Regions from separate parts of the Homo sapiens genome. Here all the other regions are linked to region 1. The links are contacts of gene promoters, found by promoter capture Hi-C in blood cells and fetal thymus (Javierre and others, 2016). All regions are on one chromosome and are shown on one strand. The core of a region is centred on a gene start or on the middle of the fragment in contact, and the rest is flanking DNA. Distances in the headings are between cores, read along the strand shown.

Region 1 (3,798 bases), core at 50-2,549:
CGAATCACCTGAGGTCAGGTGCGACCTGACCAGGGCGAATCACTTTGAGACCAACCTGACCAACATGGTGAAACTCCGTCTCTACTAAAAATACAAAAATTAGCCGGGCGCGGTGGTGGGCGCCTGTAATCCCAGCTACTTGGGAGGCCAAGGCAGGAGAATCGTTTGAACACGGGAGACGGAGGTTGCAGTGAGCCAAGAACACGCCACTACTCTCCAGCCTGGGCAACAGAGCGAGACTCTGCCTCAAAAAAGAAATTTAAAAAAAATTTGCCTTCAGAGACAGTTTTAAAAACATAAATGGCTTTGTAGCATATTTATTTACAAGGCTATACTAATTAAAACAGTGTGGCAACGACATTAAGATCAGCGGAACAGAGCAGGTAACTCGGGAAAAAAAAGGATTTCGCTGCTTAAATTTGTGGCTCTTTTGTAAATGGAATCAGGGACCTAGAAGAGAATATAATTCTCCACATCCAACTGGTTCAAGGCTTAGTTTCGTTAGTAAACAGTTCACATTATCCAAAAAGATGTTCCTGAACGTGGCCTCAAAGAGCTAACACGGGTAGGCCCTGACGATCGTCCTTTTCCATCTCTCAGATGAAAATGGGTAACCCAGGGTCACACGCTTGTTACAGCCAGAGCTAGACCTTGAATTCCAAATCCAAGGCTCTGCTGCGTAGATGAACGAGTTGTGAAAAGGCTTCACATCCTGGTGGTCAGAGTTCACCCGAAATTCACATTCGAAGGTAGAAACTCCACCCAAACGGCGGCCAGGGAAAGTACACTCTGGAGAAAACCAACACCTCCCTCTTGGGATCCTCGGGTCCACGTCCCAAAGTGGTTTCACAGGGCGGGATGGGGCAACCCTGAGTGCTGTCAAGGGCTTCGTGCTCCGCGACGCCCCCAGGACCTCAGGAGGCCGCCGGCCCGAGGCTACCTCATGGTGGGGGACAGCCCGGAAGTGACCCCGTAGCCCTGCCGGTCGCAAGGCCGCCTGGGTCTGGAGGTCGGAGCCGTCCCCTCGGCTAGGGCGCCTCGGGGTCGTGACCTTGGTCTGCCCTCCGTGTCGCCGGGGCCCGCAGGCTTCAGAGTTCGCTCCCCTCGCTAGGCCCGACGCCTAGAAGCCTCCTGCGGGCCGCCTCTGCCTCGCCTCTACTCCAGGGCCGGCGTGCCTGCCCTCCACGGAGCCGACCCGCGCCCCAAACTTACTCAAAGACGTGCTCCGAAGTCCAGATCTTCATGGTGCCGGCACCCTGAGAGATGTCCGGGTAGCGCCAGGGGACAACGAGGCACAGAGGCTACACCTGCCCCTGCCCCGCCCCCAGCACCCCAGCCGGCGGCGCAGTGCGCAGGCGCTGTCGGGCCCGACGCGAGGGACGTCCAGACGCGCGGCCCCACGCCCTATCCCGGCCCGGGTTTTGCCCCAGCCTTGCGCGCGGCGCAAGGAAACCCCGCCTCTTAGCGCCGGGCGCATCGCGCCGGCGCAGTGCCGCCGACGGCAGCTGGAGGGGCCGGCGCGGGCGCTGTGCTGCGCAGGCGCGGCGGGCTTGTAGCGAGCCTTGACCTCTGGGCAGAGTTGGGTCAGGTCCAGGAGGTGCCTGCGCGCCCGCTTGGCCCTCCTTGTCCTTCTGGCCCAGCACATCCTCGCCTGGCATTTCGAGGCGTGTGGACGCATGCGGTCAGCCTGCTGACATAGATGTTCGTTGTGGTGGTCACTTGTGCAAAATTTCCTGGTGCCCTATAGAGAGTTCCAGCCACCTCCTGGGTCAGCCCGGGCTGTTTTCCCAAATCCACCAGCCACCCAGCCGATCAGCTGGGCCAGTCCCACCTGCCCGCCAGGAGCTTGCAGCCCTCGGAGGGGATAAATAAGGCGTGACGCGGAGAAGCTAACATCAGACCTGCCCATGAATAATACCCCTACGAGGGATGCGGTCCGGAAGCACGGTGCCAGGGGTCGGGTAGAAAAGCTTCCTGGCCGGGCACACCTTGCCCTAGGTGCATAGGATGGATCTGAGCTGAGATGTCTCTCCCAGAGAGACTTCCCTCGTCACCGTTTCTCACCTTGTTGCTCTGCTCCGTCACAATATCCTGTTGCATTTTTTATAGCACTTACCCCTCTGACATCATCTTGTTAATTTATTTGTGAAAATTCACAATCGAACTGAGTTCTTGAAGGCAAGAATCTTGCCGGTCTTGCTCAAAAATCATCCTCAGTGTCTCCCATATAGTCAAGGCTCAATGACTACTTATTGAAAAATGAAAAAAATCAATAGCTATTTGTGGGATGAATGAATTAATGGAGTCATCTAGTTTATTTGTTGTAACTTCCGCTAGACTGTAAGCCCCTGAGGGCGAGGCTCTTGCCAGACTTGTTCAGTGATTTCCCCCTTCCTAAATGACAATTATTTGTTGCATCAATGGATGAAAGAATGACTAAGAATTGCTGGGGCAGGAGGAGGTGGCATGTGGTTTCATTCAGAGATGAGCCTTGTCCAGGGAACAGACTGCCTGGCTTAGCTTTCAGAATATGGCTTCCCACCCTGCTCTCCTGCACTCTCCACAGCCGTCTACCTCCTAACAGAACAATTTGCCATTTTCAATGAAGGTTATGGAGGAAAATCTTTACATCTAGTTACTTAGAAGCTTGTTAGAAGGACCACCTCATTCTTGTTCTTAGCTTGTTTGATTGTTAAAGACAAAAAGCCAGGTTAATTTAGGAGGGAGGATAATTTTTCAAAATAACATAAGTCCTTTATACAGGAAAACAAAAATTACATTAGACAGGAAGGAAATAATATGGTTGGGTAGTTGCTAAGTGCAATTTGTGGTACCTGAGATTTTCTTTTTTTAAACCTACAGTACTTAAGAGTGATTTCTTGGGGAGGTAATGCTTTAAGGGCTACTGAGAGTACCTCAGCCTTGACTAAGATGCAGTTAACGTCGCTGGGTGTTAAAAACACTGGTTCAAGAACCATCAGCACAGAACAGCCTGTCCCTGCTATTCCTGGAGTTCCATGAGGCTGTTCACCATTCAGCATTCCTGTTCTGTTTATTTTAGAGAACATTATTCTGCTCTCAAGTTCAAAATTTCTGTGTTTTAGTCATGAAAATTAAATGACACCTATCTCCCGTGCCCCCAACACACATACTATATCAGTCTAATTTTACTTACTAGATCTAGAGTGGTGGGATGGGGCATGGAAAGATGGAGATCCAGGACCCAATTGTCTTCTCTGCGTGTCTCCTCATGGTAGAAATAATACCACCTCTTGCTTGGATTTGGAGGGTAAGACTTACATAATGATTATCTCCTGGAGACTCTGTTAGGAGACACAGAGGAAGCAAATTAATGGTTTTTAGATACCTAAGCACTGCATTACTTGACAGTGCCTCTCACAGAAACAGAGAAGTCATTAACAACAGATCATTACTTTGATTTGAAATTAACTAGGTGACTGGTAGTTATGGCCCTTGCCCCAGGGATGACACACATCTCCACACCCTTCCTGCTGGGATCTCCTGTTGGGATCTTGCCGAGCTCCGTGTCTGGGATGAGAATGCAGACATTAACTCTTACCTACAAGGAACTTTACAACTGGCCAGGAACCAAAACCAAAACACAAGTCAAGAATCAACTAGAGGATATTTATTTATTTTTTAGACAGAGTCCCACTCCGTCACCCAGGCCCAGCCTGGAGTGCAATGGCACGATCTTGGCTCACTGCAACCTCTGCCTCCCAGGTTCAAGTGATTTTCCTGCCTCAGCCTCTGGAGTAGCTGGGATTACAGGTGCGT
Region 2 (3,707 bases), core at 121-2,620, 650 kb before region 1:
TTAAGGTGTATAATTTAGAGGATGGGTGATTAAAGTACTCCAAAGTCTTTATATTTTAAGGAAACAGGGTAAAGACATTTTTACAAATATTTAAAGATATTGGACTTTCACAAGGTAAGTATGCATGCCCAAAAGTTTGAAGTAACCACTAAAACTTAGAAATAGAGTATACAGGTGAAGAAAATCAGAATGAGAATAAAAATAAACCCTAAAGAAGAAAGGAAAGGGGAAAAAAACCAGGCAGGACAAATAGAAATAACAAAATACAATGGTAGAAATAATTCCAGATATATCAGTAAATATAATAAATGTAAATGGACTAAATGCTCCAGTTAAAATACAAAGACTATTCTTTTAAAAAACCTTTTTATCATGAAAAATTTCAAGTATACAGCAAAGTGGGAGAAACAGTACAAGAAAACCATATACCTGCGATGTAGAGTCAGCCATTGCTAGCAATTTGCCACATTTGTCTCACCTATATGGGTATGTATAGGAGACTATTAAGAACACCTATTTAACTTCCATAGTAAACATAATATAATGAAATACAATTTAAACGGTAATCATGATGTAGAGTATCCACTTTTGAGGTCAAGCAGATCTGGATTCTCCAGCAATTTTTAATTATTTAACTTACGTGTGTGGTTATTTATTCAAAAGATGTCTCTTCACTAGGCTATAGTAAAAGGATTGGAATCAGGTTCGCTTTTCTGATCATTGTATTTCTAAATATTTGTTGCATAAACAAATAGAATTTACTAGTAAAGAATTCAGCACAGTGCCAGTTGCATAGTAAACATTTAACGTAGAGTAGCTTGTATTTATTGTAGTTGCTGTTGTTATTGGAAGCATTCAGTAGAGTGATACAAAATAAATAAGCAATAATTGGTAGTTTATTATATTTATAATTATTATTTACAAGACGTCACAGTGCCTAGCCCATATCACTCACCCATAAACATTATACTTATACTAAGTACTTTCACTATTATTCAAAGTCTCTAACAGTGCCTGGCACTACATAAGCAAGAGAAAAGTGGAAGTTTATTCTAATTGTTATTATTGAATAAAGCACTTAACACGAAGCTGGCCCCCAGCGGGCCCTTAATAGTTTCCGCGGTGGCTGTCGTAGCTGGACTACAGACCCCGCCTCCTGAGCGGCCCGAAGCCCCGCCCCTTACTGCCCCGCAGTCCCGCCCCCGTGGCTTGTGCCGCGCCTGCGCACTGTCCCGGAAGGGGCTCTACGCGCGCAGCTTTAGTCCCCGCCCCTGGAGCCGGCGGCGCAGGGCGCAGCTTCCCGCCGCCAGAGCGGGCCAGCCTGCTGCGTGCGTGCGTGTGTACGACTCTGCGTGCGTGCGTGCGTGCGTGCGTGCCGTCAGCTCGCCGGGCACCGCGGCCTCGCCCTCGCCCTCCGCCCCTGCGCCTGCACCGCGTAGACCGACCCCCCCCCAGCGCGCCCACCCGGTAGAGGACCCCCGCCCGTGCCCCGACCGGTCCCCGCCTTTTTGTAAAACTTAAAGCGGGCGCAGCATTAACGCTTCCCGCCCCGGTGACCTCTCAGGGGTCTCCCCGCCAAAGGTGCTCCGCCGCTAAGGAACATGGCGAAGGTGGAGCAGGTCCTGAGCCTCGAGCCGCAGCACGAGCTCAAATTCCGAGGTAAGCCCCAGAGGCCGCCACCTTCCTGCCCGCGGCCTCCGCCCCAGTGCTGGAAGGACGGAGCCCGGCGCGGCGGGTGACGTCGGCCCTCGTCCCCACCCCGACGGCGCTGTCGCGGGGGGCGGCGAGGCCGGGCCGGGCCTTGGCGCTCGCCGCGCTCCCCAGAACTGCCCGGAGTGGCCGGGACCCGAGAGGGCTGGTGCGGGAGCCGGGGCCTGCGCCTCCTCCCCGACCCCCAGCCTCCTGGGACTTGCCTTCGAGGCACTTGTCACTTTGTAACTTACCAGTTTGTGATCCTCTCTAGTGTGAGCCTCCGCCGCTGCCTTTGCCTAGAAGTTTCTTCCCCTGCTCCGTGACAGTGTTGACCTCAGGGCTTAGTTGAGGTGTCAGCTGCTCAGAGAGGCCTGCTGTGACCACCCAGCCACCGTGCACACCTGCTGTCATTCCCTATTCCGTCACTGTTTCGTGGTCAGCACGGCACTTTTCATACCCAAAATCACTGTTTCAATACTAGAAGGGAAACTGCATGAGGACAGGCTCTTGTCAGTTCGCTGCTGTGTACCCAGCACACATTATACGCCTAGTAAATAAATACCTGTTGAACCAACAGATGAACATGTTGAACCAACAAATGAACCTCCTCAGGACTTCTGATGGGATTGGGCCCATTTTCCTTTCACTGCGTCCCTCATGCTGTCTCCTGGTTGCGGTGCAAGGAGGCTGCCACGGTGCTGGGATCCTTTTTCTCCGCAGAGCTGTCTGGAGCAACACCTGCGGCGATGGGAAGCCATGACCCTGGTTTCTCCCAGATACTATTACCTCTGTAATTTGTGCCTTTATGTTTTCTATGTTGTTACTTTTGTTTTTTTTTTTTTTTTCCTACCTTCACCAGGGCCACGAGGTAAAAGTTCTTGTCTGACATGCTCATTCTTTCTTTTTGCGTGTATCCAGTGATGTGGGAGGCTCTGGGGAGGTGATGGATGCACAAGACAGATAAGGCCTCTGCTCTCACAGAGCTTACCTTCCGACGAGGACAGACAAACCAACACACAAGATCATTGCAGATAGTGCTAAGTGCTGTGTAGGAAATGGAACAGTCTGACTCCATGGAAGCGTACTTTAGATTGGAAGGCCGGGTCTCCACTATATCGCTAGCACCGGACTCACAGTAGATGCTCAGTTGGTATTTATGAATGAATGAATGGCCAGAGGCTCTCCAGTTTATATGTCCTATTGGGAAGTAGTGTAGGGTAACTTACCCAAAGTTACCCAGTTGGCAAATGGTACATTTGAACCCAGACTTCAGAGTTCACGCTCTTAACCGTTTTGCTGTCTGATCGCTGGGAAATACTCCAGAACGGTGGCTGTCACTTTGCCTTCCAAGTTAACAATGTGAAATAACTCTGAATTTACAGAGAACCAAAGGCTTTCCAATTAAAATGAAAAAACCGAAAAACCCCACCAAACCTACCGTGGATTGTAATTCCAGGATAGTACTTGAGCTTTCATGATGTTCTCATGGCCTTCTGGGGATGCCAGATTGGGAAAGAAGTCCAGGTAGCTAAAGTGAAAATAGTGAGCCTTAGTTTCCACTTGAGTTGTCTGAAGTTCTTTCTCTATCTGGGAGGCCTGGCTTGGCTTCTCCTGATAATTGGTGGGTTCATTCGGTTAGTCCACAAACATTTACTGAGTACCTGATCTGTGTGTCAGATACCCAGAGAAGCCAAGTTATATCAGCTGTACTCTCCTATTTTCCCTCAACCTCCTCCCAGTACTTTAGGGAAGGGGGCAGATGAGAATAACAGCCAGGACAGGACAATGATGTAGGGTAGTCCAGAGTGCTCCAGGAGCATTGAGGAGGTCAACTCCTGAAAGAGGTGTCATTTGAGCTCAGTTATAAAGGTCGAGTAGAAGAAGGCTCAAAGAAGGAAAGGGTGGGGAACATTTCAGACAGAGGAAATTGCATGCACAGAGGCACAAACACTGAGATGACTGGGCTCCTTTGGGATGCCACTAGTAGTTTTTTTTTTTTTGAGATAGAGTTCTCA
Region 3 (3,412 bases), core at 351-2,850, 800 kb before region 1:
AGGTTATCAGTTGAAAAGCACATAAAACTTTAAAAATCAGATAACATAAAAATAGCCAGAATGTTGAAGTTCACAAAGGTCAACAGATCAAGCGAACACTCTGAGATTGCACGACCGCCCCGGCGTTTCTCCGACTGCAAACCGAACCGGATGCTCCTGCTCGCGGCTCTTGGCAGCACGAGGTGGTTTCACTGCAGCGAGGTCCGCTTGGAGAGAACTGGGAGCGCGTGCTCCTTACTCCGAAAGACAAAAGCATGCAGGAGACGGCTGGCTGCGAAAACCCACTACCAAAGCTTTCACTACTTTCTAAATGGGGATGGGGAGAAGGGCATGAAAATAAATGACATTGCTTTCACCCAGGCAACGAAAGGAAATGAAAAAGAGATGGGGAGGAAGTTAGAACCAGAAGCCCGGAGTGCTGGTGAATACTTTCATATCAAAAAGCACCGTTTTCAAAAACATGATACCAATATCATGGGCACCGGAGCACAGAATTCATATCAGTCGCTGTGGCTTCAATAAGCCGGGAGATGGGAGATAGGGCGCGTAGGGGGCTAGATAACGTGGTCGGGCACTGGGGCCGCGCAACCACCCGGGGAAGCCCCGCCGGGCACCGAGCGCGCCTACTTCCCGTGCGCCGCCGCTAGAGGTCGCACTGCTTTCATGGAAAACGTGGGCCTGTTTTTCTCGACTCAGAACAGGATGCTGGGAACATGGTAAAATGACTGAAACCTCAATCTCTCAAATTAAGCAGAATGATTAAAGACCACAGCAAAGAGAAAGGCTTTCGGTTTGCCCCTGGCATCAGCCAAATCATATCCTGAATAGCTGCAAAAGCCTGATGAATTTATTCAGGGAAGACAATTATTTGAGAGATTTCTAGTTGTGGATGAGAAAAATGAAAACTAAAGACACCGAAATGAAAACAAGGTAAAAACTAAAACCCAAACAACAACTGCCACAAACAAATTCCCTCCACACCGTGAAAGGCACATTATATACCTTAGGAAGGGGAGTTATTTAAACTGATGCTTCCACCCTTTCATCATCACTAAAGCCTGGAACATTCCTTTTGCCAGCTCAAGACAGAATTAAATAACTCCTTCAGGCACAAAATGATGTGCAGATAGGAGCCACCTTGGGGAACCTTTTTGTTTCATAATCATCTCATCTGGGTTAGACCCCTTCCTGTCTCCCACAGTAGCTAAAGGGCATTAAGCATGCTGTACCCTACGGAGAGGACCACACTCAGAATGTTCAGGAAAGCTCTGGTAAAAACTGCTCCGATTAATAGGAAAACACTGAAGAGTGGGTGATTCATCTTTTATTTGGTTCAAATAAATTGCCTTCTAGAACAGCAGAACACTCTAATTCGAAAGTGACTCAAGCCCTGTCTTCATCTGAAAATGAATGTCTCCCCGGAGACTGTGGTATTTGTAACTCAGGGTTTTTGGAATTCTGTTTATACCTTAATAAAAACATAATCTCTTTATCTAAAAGAACACTATTGCTGCTGCTTTAGAAATCAATTATATGGTAAGAAAATTAAGATTTATTCCATCTAGTTTGCTTTCTCATATCCCCAAATATGTTTTTACTTACTCTGCTAGTTCATATCGAAACCTCCAATTCCTGCTGTTATCAGTCACTACAAATTCTTGAAGCTGATAAAGATAGTCTCTCCTCTTGTCTTCATGAAGCAACTATTTTTTAAAAATGTATATATAAACAAACATGTATAATCCTTCAAAATGACCCCAAATGCCCCCTTTTATTCCACTTCCAATTATACATTTGTCACTGGCAAGAACTTTTGCATTTCCCCTACACCTCGTCATCTATCACGCAGCGTGGCTGCGAATGAACACTGCTGTACACTGACATCAAATGCATCCCTGAACACCTCCAACCTTTTCCCCTGGCTAGGACATGTGCTTATTATGTATTTCTGAATGCCCCTGAGGTCTTCCTGCTTTAGTAATTTCCTATCTAAAAACAAAAAAACAGACAAACAAAAACCCAGTCTGTGTGTGTTTGGAAGACAGTGTGCCACTGCCGCTTCCCAGGGAGCGAGGCTGCTCGGCACCAGGAGAGGAGAGACTCAGCTGGAGCAGCGCACACCAGAGTCCGTGAAGGGCAGCTCTTGGTCATGTGGATGAGAGTAATTAGTTTCTCTAGGTCATTTTTAAACTCTTATTTTTTATATTCATCGTTCGTTTGGGGGGGAGGGGGGGAAGCCAGAAGGGAAGCAGCAGCGACTTGCAGAAAAAGTGCTTCATGCAGAACAGAGGTTGGACTTCAGCCCAGGCTCTTCCCCTGGGTGACTTCTGGGCAAGTCAGGTCACTACCTGGGGGCCTTGATTTCTTCTTTTGCAAAGAGTGTGCTAGGCTTTGTGTCTACCATCTTCCACAGAATTAAAACTCTAATGGACAGGAAAATGAGGAGAAAAAAGTTTAAAATATTTACCCATCACTGAAAGAACATCCACTTTAAGATTATGGATGGTACATTTCAGCTAAAGAAAGCTAAAAACTGCATTGTTTTTTTCACTGACACCATAGACATCCAGGGCTTCACAAATTTGATTCGGAGAGAGGAGGCTTGTTTTTTGCTTTTAACCCTTCTTCCTACCTTTAGAAAATCATACAGGTGTCTAAGAACTCCTATTCGCACTTCATCCAGATCCTTTAAAAATCCATTGAAGATAGGCACCAGGTCAGCTGCTGTTAACTGATCCCCAAGAATCACAGCCAGCTCGTGAATGGAGAAGGCTAGGGCTCGCCGTACCTTCCACTAGGGGTGCATAGCAGACACACGAATCACGACAAGCAAGTGCAATTCAACCTCTTCCGTATCTTACATGGCATTTTTGGAGCAAAATGAATACTGCCAGGTGTTGGCCACTTAAAGCTTTATTTCATCAGAGACCAGTAAACATGCCAATTTGCATCCACATAAAATTCAGGCCAATAAGCCTTGCTGCAGCTTCCCTTTTCTCCCTAATGAATGACCCACCCTCTTTCTGCACGTGCCTCTGGAAAGGCTTTTACCTGTACATCAGAAGCCAGTGTTTCATATGTATCTTTCAGGCAGTGCCAATTTTGCCTGCCCAGGGTCAGTGCCACCCCTGGGAGGCTGTAGGCACAGTGTTTGGCTATGTCAGTATCGACAGTCTGGGCTCGAGCTGGGTCAGTCATGGACACATACTGATCTAGCAGCGGCTGAGGTATTACATCCTGGGAAATGAGAGAGAAAGGAGGCCATCGTGAATGCAGGAAAATACTCATGAAAAACAAGGAGTTTGGAGTTTAGAGGTGAAAACAATAAAGCAGAAATGTGAGAGGAACATGAGGCCTTCCTAAAGCCAAAGGGCTTCAGATTGCCAACTCTGTTTTCTCCAGAGAGTGGGTT
Region 4 (3,714 bases), core at 65-2,564, 630 kb before region 1:
CTCATCGTTCACAGATTGAAAATTCCAGTTGGATCATCAAGGTGCAGAATGCTAAACTTGTTCTTCTCCCCTGTTCTGTATCTGGTGTGAATTGGATGTGTTGATTTTCGTATGGAGGCTTTTTCACATGCTGTCATCTCCACTAAAGATGGAACACTTTGGAGAAGTTTTACTTCTGTTGTTAATGACTTTTTGCACTTGAACTGTTAAAACAACTACAACCATGAGAAATTGGGACCCCATGCTATTTTATCACTCATACCCCTAACTTGAGCATATTATCTGTCTTGACTCATCCTGCTTTGTGTAAAATGTGAATCATGTTTTGTCACTCTTCTATTTAGATAGAATTTTATTTGCAGTAGAATATTGCTTATCTTTTTGTTTATTTTTGTGATTACTGTAATCAGAAATTTTGGTCTTTCAAGTAGAGAATAATTACTAGATGTTCGTTAGTCAATGGGATAAAGAATGCATTGAAAAAATTCAGTTTATTAAATCGTCTAAGATCCTTTTAGAACTGATGTAAAATTCATCTGTGAATAATCTTCTACTGCACGATAATATTAGTGCTGGATATAGATAGAATGTATGAAGCCTCAGCTCTTATATACTCCTTTTAGCCATTTTTCTATTACGAAAAAAAATCTAGTGTATTAAAGGAAAGTAGTGACAGTATTTATCTTTAGATGGTTTCTAGTATTTGAAGTTCATACAGAAGCTTTTGTCAGAATTGTACACATGGGTCTTTGTCTTGAGTTAATGAGACCACTGCAACTTTAAACATGTTTTGAGTGATAACCTTGATTTTTATAAATTATACAAGCATGACTATCAAGGCTGGTTTATCAGTTTTCAACAACTTTACAAGTCTGAACAAGTAGAAAATTATTTCAAAAGAACCTTGTTTGGATCTCACATAAACTACAGGTAGCTTTCTGTATATGAAAAAATTTTTAAGTACAGAAAAATACAGATAATATAAATACCCCAGTATGGAGTAACTAAATGTTAATAATTTGTTAGAAGACTCGTTTTAAATCTTTCTTTAATAAAACAAGTAAAACTTCACTAATAATTTATGGCATGTCTGTACTCCATATCTGCTGATTCATACGCCCTCCTTTTTTTTTTGTTTTTTTTTTAACTCCCCGGAGGAATTTAATGTGAACTATTTCCGTTTTTTTCTAGATCACTTAATGTAGTGTCATGGTGTATGGATGACTTAACATGTTTTTGAGACCTATCAACTGTTGAAATACAGATCTAGTTCATTCTTTTAAAGAGTTGTATAGTATTCCTTCATGAGATTTTAGAATTTTTATTGTAAGTAAGAGAATTCTTTATATATTTTCAATTCTGGCCATTCATCTGTTATATAAACTGCAAATATCTTAGTTTTCCAGGCTGTTCCTTACTAACTTTGTATTTTTTTTCAGGTAGCTTTCCTGAGTTTGATCTTAGGAATTCTTAAAATACAGTAGCATGTCTTCCAGTTTAGTTTTCCCACCCATGGAGGTGGTGGCAGGCTGAGTTTTGTTTCTTTCTGCTCTGAAAGACCTAGGAAACTAGTGAATTGAGTAAGCACCCTGCAAGTCTGGTATAGTCTATTTCAATCAAGTTGGCTTCTGGTGTGCCTTTGATGGCATCATCAGTGAGAGTTCTTGGTGTTGATTTCTCTTGCTGCAATAACAGGTGTGATGTTTCTCAGTAGCTGGCTGGCTCCCGAGGATACCAGGAGAATACTTTATTAATTTAAAACACTGCATTCTAAGAGTTCTTCAGGAAAGTTATGTGTCTATGGGTAGGGTTGTTTTTATGTGGTTATTTCAAAATAAGAGCTATACAATCAGGCTTTCTGCTGGAATATTGGAATATAATGTCTGCCATTTAAACACATTGGTTGCAAAGCTTTAAAGCTTTATTTTTGTTTCTAAAGCATTGATTTAATGTGTGAGCTAACAATTCGATCAAGAAAATAGATTTTTAAGAAAACTTCTCCAGTGTCCTTATTCTTGAGTTCATGGTTATTTAACAGCTCACTCTCTTCGAATATCTGTTAGTATGGTATCTTTCATTTTTTAGGGAGGGGGCAACTTTAAAAAAAAACACCATAGAATAATTATGATGAAAGCATTATTGACACAGTGAGCATTTTTAATACCTTCAACCTGTATATAAGCAGCACAAATTTAGAGTGATTTCAGATCCGGGTTTTGAAGTAGGTGTCTGTTTACAGGAAATGCAGCAGAATCAGAGTACAATGACCTCTGAGGAAGTCTCGTATTCATGCAGCATACATTTTTACTATGTTTGTGGCACTGTTCTAGTTTGGAGGATCTGGTGATGAATAGGACAGACACCCCCCCCCCCCACCCCGCCCCCCACTCCATGTGGAAACAGGAAAGGAACAAACAAAATATGTCCTATGCAGAAGATGAAAAGGGTGTAATGCTGGAACAGGAGCAGCAGTAGTCTCAGTATTTATTCACCCAGAGCCTGGATGTGCTTACAGAGGGTGCATAGAGGAAGAATACAGCCATTGTGTGAAGTAGATGGAAGCATGGCATGGCTATTTGTTCATTCAGCAAATATATTATTGAGCATCTGTTCTATGCCTGCAAGTGCTCTAGGTGCTGATGATCAGTAATGAACAAGAGGGACAAAAAAGTCTGTGTTGATGGAGTTTCCATTCTAGAAGGGGAAGATTTACATAAACAAGAAAAGAAATAATGTGGGGATTGGTGCACTGCAGATGGGTATAGAACGCAGAAAGCAATAGGATACTTTTTAATGTAAATAGACTGTCAAAGGGTAAAATTTAAAAATATTAATAAGATATCCAACAGATTTTGCTTTAGAATGTCCGTGTCCCTCCATTTTAGTGTATTTTTCCCACATAGAGAGTCTACTGTATTGAAACCTCAAGCACACTTTTATTGTCTTAACAAAATCCATCAAAAGTCATAGGCTTCTGGAGACAGATTATTACCTTCCCAGAAGGTAATCTTTTTAGAGTTGAAGTGAAATATGGTAATTTGTTTTTTGGAGAGGCTGTGAAAAGGAGAGATACTGTACCTAATTTGTGTTTGCAAGAGTATAAAATAATATAGCTTTTTTTATGCAGAGTGGAAAAAACTGTTGTGAAGCTAATAACTTTAAACTTGTATCTGGAAAGCTGAGACCTGATAGATTATATATCAAATTGGTATACAACTTATTTGGTAACATATATAGGTTGAGTTTCAAAGTATTGTAGCTACATCAGAAGATAAATAACAAAGGAAGGATATGTATTTGTGAAACCAGAATTTCATGAACTCTAGAAAAGGAAGAGGAGCAATCACTTTGCACAACAAAGAATCTTTATTCATATACACACACACACACACACACACACACACACAATACAGATAGATATTTTCAAAATCTCAATAATATTTAATATTAGAAATGTTAAGGGGGATACTACCGAAAGTGAATTAATATAAAAGACCAAATGCTTTTTCCCCTTCCTTTTTTTAAAAAAAATATAGTTTAGAACAGTTTTAGGTTCACACAAAAACTGAGCAGAAAGTATGCACAGAGTTCTCTTGTAACTCCTACCCCACACATGCATCATAACCCCCTCCACTGCCAACATCCTACACTGAGAGGTACATTGGTTACCATTGGTGAACCTACATTGACATGTCATTGTTAGCCAGAGTCCGT

Evidence for each region. The method cuts DNA at HindIII sites, captures the fragments that hold promoters and counts their contacts. A CHiCAGO score of 5 or more calls a contact.
Region 2: the fragment with the promoter of VAPB here is called in contact with the fragment with the promoter of PRELID3B in region 1 in 2 of 17 cell types (non-activated CD4 T cells and total CD4 T cells); the score reaches 6.1 in non-activated CD4 T cells.
Region 3: a fragment that was not itself captured here is called in contact with the fragment with the promoter of PRELID3B in region 1 in 1 of 17 cell types (naive B cells); the score reaches 6.2 in naive B cells.
Region 4: a contact is called between a fragment that was not itself captured here and the fragment with the promoter of PRELID3B in region 1, in 2 of 17 cell types (naive CD4 T cells and naive CD8 T cells). The highest score is 5.7, in naive CD4 T cells.

The regions. Positions count from the first base shown.
Region 1 is chr20:59,041,487-59,045,284 of GRCh38, forward strand. PRELID3B (PRELI domain containing 3B) reads right to left here and starts at 1,300. Exons shown (of 6, transcript NM_016045.3): 1 at 1,213-1,300. The coding sequence starts at 1,244. SLMO2-ATP5E (SLMO2-ATP5E readthrough) reads right to left here and starts at 1,360. Exons shown (of 6, transcript NR_037930.1): 1 at 1,213-1,360. RefSeq lists a silencer at 1,218-1,617. The HindIII fragment of the contact is 2,130 bases long and covers 1-1,968 here.
Region 2 is chr20:58,387,859-58,391,565 of GRCh38, forward strand. It overlaps VAPB (VAMP associated protein B and C), which reads left to right and starts at 1,371. Exons shown (of 6, transcript NM_004738.5): 1 at 1,371-1,659. The coding sequence starts at 1,602. RefSeq lists silencers at 1,080-1,519, 1,780-1,899. The HindIII fragment of the contact is 12,509 bases long and covers 1-3,707 here.
Region 3 is chr20:58,236,609-58,240,020 of GRCh38, forward strand. It overlaps the pseudogene PPP4R1L. Among named protein-coding and RNA genes, the nearest start is that of ANKRD60, 9.7 kb to the left of the region's middle. RefSeq lists a silencer at 517-566. The HindIII fragment of the contact is 2,618 bases long and covers 292-2,909 here.
Region 4 is chr20:58,406,529-58,410,242 of GRCh38, forward strand. The region is part of intron 1 of VAPB (VAMP associated protein B and C); the gene reads left to right. Among named protein-coding and RNA genes, the nearest start is that of VAPB, 19 kb to the left of the region's middle. The HindIII fragment of the contact is 1,190 bases long and covers 720-1,909 here.